2 separate regions of the Homo sapiens genome follow, and region 1 is linked to region 2. Evidence: promoter capture Hi-C in human tissues and cell types (Jung and others, 2019). All regions are on one chromosome and are shown on one strand. Each heading gives the region's core, a stretch centred on a gene start or on the middle of the fragment in contact. The rest is flanking DNA. Distances are from core to core; before and after follow the strand shown.

Region 1 (4,705 bases), core at 1,288-3,787, 190 kb after region 2:
GTCCCATATATAATCTTACCAAAAGTCTCAGATCCCTTTTCTACTCTGCGAAGTTTCCTTCCAACAGGAAAACACACATTCCGGAACCTCTGGAACAACATGTCACCAGGCCTCTGCCATCAGGCTCAATGTCCTCTCCTGACTTACGAATGAAAATGTGCTGTGAACATCATTCCCTCCTCATAGGTCAGTGGGCAAGGCTGGACTCTCTGAGTCCTTGGCAGCCTGGGCAATGCCATCGCTGCTACAGCCAATGTCTCATACTCACCTTCTCCCCATTGCAGGGCATGTCTTCTTTCTGGGTGTTGGGCAATGGGAGCCACTATTCTAAGACTCCCCCTCACCTTTTCTTTCCCTCTCAGCCTCTGAAACCTTATATTCTCCCTCCTGAGCACCCCATGATCCTCCATCAGGAATTTCCTCAACAACTTGTCTTCAGCTGTCAGAACCCTGTCTGAATCCTACAGATTTTGCTGGGCCTGCCTGGGGAGAGGGAAGCTTTCACCCCAAGAAACAAACACCCCACAGAAAACCCATAGTGAGAGTCTTCAATAGTCCTATTAGCAGGGCCTTGCACTGACTTGCCAGTCCAAGGGTGCAGTCTCCTTCTGGCCTAACAGGGCTGTCTGAGGGCATACAGCACATATACTGGATGATCATTTTTCAGCTTGACCCCTTCCCCACACACCTGGTGTGGTCCCCCTCACAGCACCCCGGATCCATCTATCCCAGAATACTACTTTATGGTCCCTTTTCCCTGTTGCTTCCTAATTCACCTGTGTACCCGAGAATGGCTTAGAAACCATTACTGGATCCTCCTGCTCCACCCAGGGACTAGGCCAGCAGAGTCATCTGCACTGCAGGCAGTCCAGGTTGAAGTTCAAGTTTTGGGCAGGAGTTGAAAGTAGAACATTGTACACATTTGGGAACCCAGGGCTGTGGATATGTTGGCCACCCTGGTGTTGGTCACAGGGTACAAGCCAAGACTTCTCAGGGTAGTCAAGACTCAGCAGCCTTGCTTCTCTTCCCCTCACTACAGGAGGCCCCTTCTGTGGGTCCTGGGTCCTTCCCAGGCTTCCTACTGGGGCTGAGGAAAGAAGCTTGTCGGTACTTGGGCCTGAGCACCCCCTGCAGGCCGCAGGAATCAGTGCACTCCCGCCCTTCAACTAGAGGCCAGAGCCCAGGAGTTTTTCCTCTCTGAAACTAGCTCTCCACAGCCTTTGTCCCACACTCCTCTCAGCCCTGGCTGTGCATCCTTAGTGGTACACACCCTTCTATGCTTCTTTCCCTTCTTCTGCAAACCTTGCTGCCCAGAGTGGATTTGGGGACCTCAATCTCTTGCTTCTCTGGGAACTCGAGCCCAGAGAAATTCAACCATCTCTTTTCCTGGGTAGTCTTCTCTATCCTCCTAACCAGCAGCTTTTTTACTTCTCCCAGAAGGGGTCTGAACACGAACCTGCAAATGTCTGCAAATGACAGAGCTTCCTCCTGCATTGCCAAGAGCCAGATGTAAGCTGGACACTGACCCACTGTCCCTTGGAATGGCTATGTCTATGTCCAGCCTGCTCTGCTGTTGATATGAGTTCTCTGACCTTAGCCATTTCTCCTGGGCCCACTGAGTGCTAGGTGTGCTGGGCCTGAAGTCTGTGGCTGTATACTCCAGGGAGCAGGAACTGAATGTCTCCTTTCCTCAGGGGTAGGAGGCTTAGGGATAAAGCTCCAGGCAGCCAAAGAGCTTGCTGATCCCAGCTGACCCCTCCTCTTGCTCAGTCTATAATGGGCCTTAGTGCTATATATATATATATATAGCATGTATATAGCACTTGCTATGGTTTGAATGTTTCTGTCCCCTCCGAATTGATGTGTTGGAAGCTTAATTCCCAATGTGCCAGTGTTTGGAGGTGCGGCCTCATGAGAGGTGTTTAGGTCATGAGAGCTCTGCCCGATGAATGGATTAATGCTGCTATAAAAAGGGCTTTCAGAAGTGGATTCTCTCTCCTCTGCTTTTCTGCCACGTGATGAACAGCATTTGTCTCCTCTAGAGGATGCAGCGTTCAAAATGCCATCATAGAAGCAGAGACCAGGACCTCACCACACACCAAACCTGCTGGGCACCTTAATCTTGGACTTCCCAGCCTCCAGAACTGTGAGAAATACATTTTTGTTCATTATAAATCATCAGTCATGGGCATTTTGTTATAGCAGCACAAACAGACAAAGGTAGCACTATGAGTCCCGTTTTATGAATGAGGAAGCCAATATTAGGTATCTTAGCCAAATCACATTGCTAGCAAGTGGCAGAGCCATGATTTAAACCCTGGGTGCCTGACTCCTAGGGGTGTGTTCCTACAAGGATAGTGTGTTCTTATCAAGGGGTTCGCTGGCAAATATTTAACAACTGCTCTCTAGGGGGAAAAAGCACTGATTTGTAACATTTGCAGATTTTTGTGATATAAATACTCCTACCATGGCCAACTTTAAGCTACCGACAAGACATCACCAAATGTAGAGTTGGGAAGGGATGTACAGTAACACACTGCATACAATATTCCTACCATACAGATATGATAGATATAAATAATCACAAGAGCACAGGGGATAGTAAAATGTAGTAAAATAATTAGGAAGTGATTACTTTTAAGTACTGATTATCTTTGGTTTTAATAGAATGTATTTAAGTTTATATAGTTTGATTTTTAATAATAGCTGTGTTTTAACAACCAGCTCTCAAAATTCTAAATTTGACAATCAGCTCTCATGAGCCAGCTCCAGCACCCCACAGTCTACCATGCTGCCTTTGTGTACAGGACAAGGATCCTACCTGCTTTAGTCACTGCTATATCTTCAGCACTGAGAACACGCCTGAAATACTGTATGTATTTAATAAATATTGAATCCTATTATTCCTACTTCCTAATTATACATAAAATCTGTCCATTTCTCTCTGCCTCTTTAGTAATGCAAACACCACCTTTTCTTGTGTGACCATTGAAATAGCTCCTCTACAACACATTCTTTATAACAACCACAGTGATCTTTAAAAACGTATCTGAGATCACCTTATGCTCCTGCTTAAAATTTTTTCTTGAAGTCAGTTGTAATTTTTTTTTTTTTTCTTTTTTTTTTGAGACAGAGTCTCACTCTGTCACCCAGGCTGGAGTGCAGTGGCGCGATCTCGGCTCACTGCAACCTCCGTCTCCTGGGTTCAAGTGATTCTCCTGCCTCAGCCTCTCGATTAGCTGGGACTACAGGCGCCTGCCACCACACCTGGCTCATTTTTTGCATTTTTAGTAGAAACAGGGTTTCACCGTGTTAGCCAGGATGGTCTTAATCTCCTGACCTTGTGATCTGTCCACCTTGGCCTCCCAAATGCTGGGATTACAGGCGGGAGCCACTGCACCTGGCCGAAGTCAGTTGTAATTCTAATGTATACACAGTCTTCAAGAGGAACAGTTTAGAGAAGTTGAATTGTTTTCTGATTTTCTTTCTCAATTCTCTTCCTACCCCACAGAATCACTGCCCAGTTTAAAGTTTGTTTCACAGGGCATCCCTTTCATCCTTATCACTTAAACTTTTCAGTGGCTTACTGTCATACTCCAGACCAAATCCAAGCTCTTTATCTTAGTTAAATGATCGAAGTCAGGCCTAATTCTCCAAACTTGTTCCTTTCCTCTCTCCTTCCACCCTCCTTCCTCTCCAGTCACCCTGGCCTCCTTTCAGATTCTCAAACACATCAAGATCTCAACCCCTCAGGATGTTTGTACCTGTTTTTCCTTTGTCTGAAAATCTCTATCTCCTTTTCTTAACACAGCTAGTTCCCTACCCACCCTGCTCCAACCCTACAGGTCACTGCTTAAAGAGACTTTCCTTGTCCACTCTATTTAACACTATATTGTCTATCATTGTATTCTGTTCATTTCCTTCACAGCTTGAACTCAAATTGTTATTACACATTTAGTTCCTTGTTGCTTACTTGTCTCCCTTCTCCACTAGACTATAAGCTTAATAAGGGCAGGGACCATTTCTCTGTATTCCCAGGGCCCATTACTCTGTCTAATATTAAGTGCTCAACAAATACTTGTTCAATAAATAAATGAACCCGCAGACCACAAATGGCCATAGGGCTGTTCTGGTCACCAGACAGCCCTATATGAGCAAAGTGTGAACCCTTGCAGGACCACAAAATAACATTCTGACAGCAGGGGCTTTGCTGTGACCCCCAAATCTGTGACAATCATTCCAGACTTGGCCTCCACTGTCAGGCACTACTTTCATCTACTTGGCCCCAAGGCCTGAATTGGAAAGAAAATGCCCACCACGGCTGGATTTAGAAGGAACAGAATGACTCCACCTTGATGTACCTTTTCCATGGCATGGGAAGACTACCTAATCTGAATCTATGGAAATCAGCCCTAGCAGCCTGTTCTTGGGCTAGCAGAAGAGCCATTTGCAGCATCCCGCCCAAGGAAGGTCACCCTTACTGCCTTTTTATTCCCCTGCTACTTTTAGGTGTTCACAATGTAAACATGTGACAGGTTGAGGGCTGGAAGCTTTGAGTTTCCATTCTGTATTACTTCTGGTGCCTTGCTCAAGATAGGGGTGCAGAAAAATAGACCATCACCTGAGAGTTCTCGGGGAGGACTCCACTGGTGCTGAGCGACTGATAATTGAGCACACCATCTCGGCTGACCAGGGCATGGGCTTA
Region 2 (4,121 bases), core at 1,227-3,726:
GTGGCCCATTTAGGAGGTTAGGAGTGTGGTTCAAGAGTAGGGTAATATCAGTGGACATATAAGCAGGCAGATTCAAGGAACACTCAGTAGCTAAAATGAACAGGACTTTGTGATTGATTCAATATGGGAGTGATGTAGTTATGTTCCCCAGGAAGCAGACTCTCAAACAAAGATTACTGTGGAGGATGTTTACTAAGGAGCGTTCTTGGAGTTAACACCTGTGCAAGAGAGAGGATGAAAATAGGATTGGGCAAAAGGAGAAGCTGAGTAGTAATTCAGTCCCAGCAAAGACCTCAGTCAACCATATGAAGGGTTCTAGGGGTGTGAGCATCTTTCAGAGTTGTCCACCACTGGGTTGAGGGGATTAAACTTTTATACCTCTGTGCTGATCGGTCATTGGATATAGAATGCCCAAGAAAGGGAGCATAACCTTGGATGAGCTGGCTTTCTTCTGCTTAGGCAACTCCTGAAGGGTTATGACAGCTGAGGGCCATCTTTTAGGAGCACTCTCCACAGCTGGAAAATAAATCCTCCATTTTTGAAGAGGGTTCTGGGCTTTGCATCACAGCATCCAGCGCAGGGGTGAAGGAGCATAGGGGAGTAAGGCATCAATAATAATTCCTAAATTTCTGATTTGTACATCCTGGTGGGTGCACTTAACGACCATATATTACAATCATTGGCTTGCTTGGGAAAATCCCACTAGAGTAGGTGCTACTGAGGGGCAAACTATATTGGACAACTAGTGCATACCCCTAGAACTGGCATAGTTTGCTAAATAAGTGAATGTCCATCTATTTCTATTTTCACTCCCCTCTCCCTTACATCCTTTGCTCCCTTCCCTCCTCATCGTACTGTCATCCAATGTGGGAAAACTTGAGCAGGTTATCTGAGGCCCCACCTGTGCTGGAGCGGAACAAATAGCAAATCAAGCTCCTCTGGTCCAGGCTCTCTGATGGGCAAGACAGGCAGTACCAGGAGGAAGGAAAGGGGGAGCAGTTGATGACATCTCAGGCATAAACTGTCTTTCAACTCTCTTTCAATGCTTCAGCCCCTATAAACTCAGGGCTGGCTGAACCAGGTCCTCTCCAAAAGATTAATTGGATAAGGGCCTGCTGAATCCCCCATAAAGCCAGACTCCATTCTCTAATTTGCTCTTCCACTGATGCCCGCCCCCAACCTCTTACAGCTACTGCTGGGGGTCAGAAGAATTTCACATCGTATTGGAGTTCATCCGGAATCTGAAGAATGGATAGGAATCTGGAGATAGGAATCTGGAGATAGGAATCTGGGGAAGAAAAGGAATGGATAGGAGAATGCATAGGGAGCAGGGCTGAAATAGTAGAAGAGGCAAATCCTGCCCCGAGAAGCTGAACCCAGTTCAGTCCTGCACCCTTCAGCCCTGTTCCCGCTGCACCGCAGTGACCCAGTCCCCTTCTAGCCCCCTCTCGTGGGAACCTGACACCCTACACAGGCAGCTCTGCCTGCACTGAGAGCAAACAGGGAGCGTTAGCGTGTCGGGTGGGCGTGGGCGCTGCCTGGAGACGGTGGAGAAAGCCAACCTTCTCCTTCTCTTTTGCCTGCGCTGGGCCGGCGTTAGAATTATATCCCATCCTCACCTTACTCTGGTTTATCCTTGTCAGTGCTTGCCACCACCCCCAACTGCCCTCAACACTCAAGTCAGAAGCTTCCTCCCGGGAGCCCTTTTCCCTGGCAAGGCTTCCCTGGAGCCAAATCTCGGCCCCGGCCCCACCCCCACTCCCGCCCAGCTGTGGAGGGCTCCTTGGGACCCTTAAGTGCAAGCCTGAGTGTTAAGCCTCAGACAGGAGATGGAGGGTGCGGAGACAGATGCAGGAGCTACCCCAGGCCCGCAGCGAGGAGCTGCAGGGAACTACGGTAGCAATAGTGTCACGGTCACTGCGGCCACTGCAACACAGTACGGTAAATGCGGCTCTAGGCTCAGACTAAAGCATCCGCGCCTCAGCAGGTGACGCACGCAGACCTGGTCTCCAACGCCACCTCCACGTTCCCTGATACACCAGAGAAAGATGCTGGATCCGTGGCAGCCGTCTCTACCCAACCCCTCCTACCCTCCCTTCCCCGAAACCTCCCCCTACGCTGCCAATACTCTTGTCTTCAATCTCTCTCTCTCTCTCTCTCTCTCTCTCTCTCTCTCTCTCTCTCTCTCATTCCTGGGAATCGGGGGTGGGGGCGGGTGATAAAGAGAGGTGGGCAGGAGAGAAATCTCTAAGAGGAGACGGGACACATCTAGGGAGGGGGCGAGCCTGGAGGACAGTCGCACAGGGAGGGGCAGAACTCCCGAGCCAGGGAGGGGGTGCACAGTCACCTGGCGGGACAGAGGCTGGCGGAGGGACGGGAACCCAGGCGGGGCGAGCCGCGGGAGAGTGGAGGGCAGGCGCCTGGGCTGGGGGCGGGGACCAGGCGGGGCAGGGGGCAGGGAGAGGAGGGCGGCGGGAGCCTGAGCCGGAATCGCAGCGTGAGCAGGTGGAGCCGCGTTGGGAGCCCGCCGGGTCGAGCTGAGTAAGGCGGCGGGCTCGGCGGGGGCCATGGAGCTGCTAAAGCTGAACCGGAGCGTGCAGGGAACCGGACCCGGGCCGGGGGCTTCCCTGTGCCGCCCGGGGGCGCCTCTCCTCAACAGCAGCAGTGTGGGCAACCTCAGCTGCGAGCCCCCTCGCATTCGCGGAGCCGGGACACGAGGTGGGTGCCTCCCTCAGCCCCCCCCACAAGCTATTTCTCACTGTACCCCAGAACACTAATAGAGTCCCCCCAACGAGCTCCACACTACCTTCTCAAACGTCCACACCGTGCCTCTCATAGTACTCCCTCAGCCCCCAAACAGCTCCCCTCACACCTTCACCCCCACAGCCTACAACTTCATCACAGCTTCACACCACCTGGTCGGAACTCCTTCACATCCTGGTCCCCTGAATACACCTAGAGCCCCTGCTCACCCCAAAGCACAGCCCCTTCCCCAACACGCAGCCCCTCCTAGACACCAGTCAGAAGGCGAGGACCTCCTCTTGCCAACCCTGCAGATCTCCTTTTCCCTCTTACATCCAGTTCACAGAGCCACAACAGAGAAGGGAAGGAAGAAAGGAAGGCAGGACTGGGAAAAGAAGGGGGCTGGTTGAGGGAGGGAGCACTCTGGAAAGCTTGAATGCGAAGCTGAAGTTGTGATCACATCTGACACCCCAGCCCCCAGCCATCCCAAAAAAGATCCTCAAATCTGAATTAGGCTGGACACTAGGGGATGCTCCTTAGAGCTGCCTGCCTCCATTTCACTCCTTCTCAAACCCCTCTGCCTCCCTAGTTGGAGCTTTCGAGGCTCTGTGCCCTCTCTCTTTGTCTGCAAGTAATGTCTCCAGCTATCTTCCAAGCTCTCTCTCCAGCCCTAGGCTAGGTGCTGGGGGCACAGGGCAAACTAGACCCAGTCTGGACCCTCATGGCCCATAGCCAAGTGCAGAGAGAAACCAAGCAAATGGAAAAATCACAGACACAATGGAAGTCCCATGAAAGGGTCTAAACTGTGGGCACCAAAAGAACTTCACAGAGGCTAGAACCTTAGAGCTGGGTCTTGAAGTTGAGTAGGCAGAAAAGGAAGGAGTGGGATTCTAGGTGAAGGAGCAATGTTAAGCAGAAGGAAATTTTTCTAAACTCAAAAAGGGAAAGTTGGAATAAATTGTAATCCAAGTATTTATTTACCCCACGAAATAATCTATGCTTTCTCAGCCGAGTTGTTACACACTCACACTTGGATTCTGTCATTCAGCCAATATTTATTGAACCAGAGATTGTGCTAGGCAGTGGGAATGTAAGTTGAACAAAACCGACACAATTCCTACTTCACAGAGCTCAAAGTTTAATGGGCGAGACAGAAAAGCAGGGGATTGCAGCACAAAGTGGAAGAGCCTTGACAGGGAAAAGATAGTGGGAACACAAGTGGAACACCTCTAGCCCAGCCCAGCCTCCTTGAGAATTAAAGTTGGCCTCTTGAGGAAATGAGCTACAAAGTCAAAAAAATTAGGGAGGCTGGCTCTAAGCTTCCTGTTGGCAAAAAAAAAAAAAAAAAAAAATATATATACACACACACACACACACAC

The links. Contacts are between HindIII fragments. The study calls those that stand out against the background at their distance.
Region 1: a fragment that was not itself captured here is called in contact with the fragment with the promoter of CCKBR in region 2 in 1 of the 25 tissues and cell types used here (spleen).

Annotation. Positions count from the first base shown.
Region 1 is chr11:6,442,468-6,447,172 of GRCh38, forward strand. No RefSeq gene overlaps it. Among named protein-coding and RNA genes, the nearest start is that of HPX, 3.8 kb to the left of the region's middle. RefSeq lists an enhancer at 888-957. The HindIII fragment of the contact is 3,476 bases long and covers 800-4,275 here.
Region 2 is chr11:6,257,362-6,261,482 of GRCh38, forward strand. CCKBR (cholecystokinin B receptor) reads left to right here and starts at 2,477. Exons shown (of 5, transcript NM_176875.4): 1 at 2,477-2,718. The coding sequence starts at 2,568. The HindIII fragment of the contact is 2,957 bases long and covers 661-3,617 here.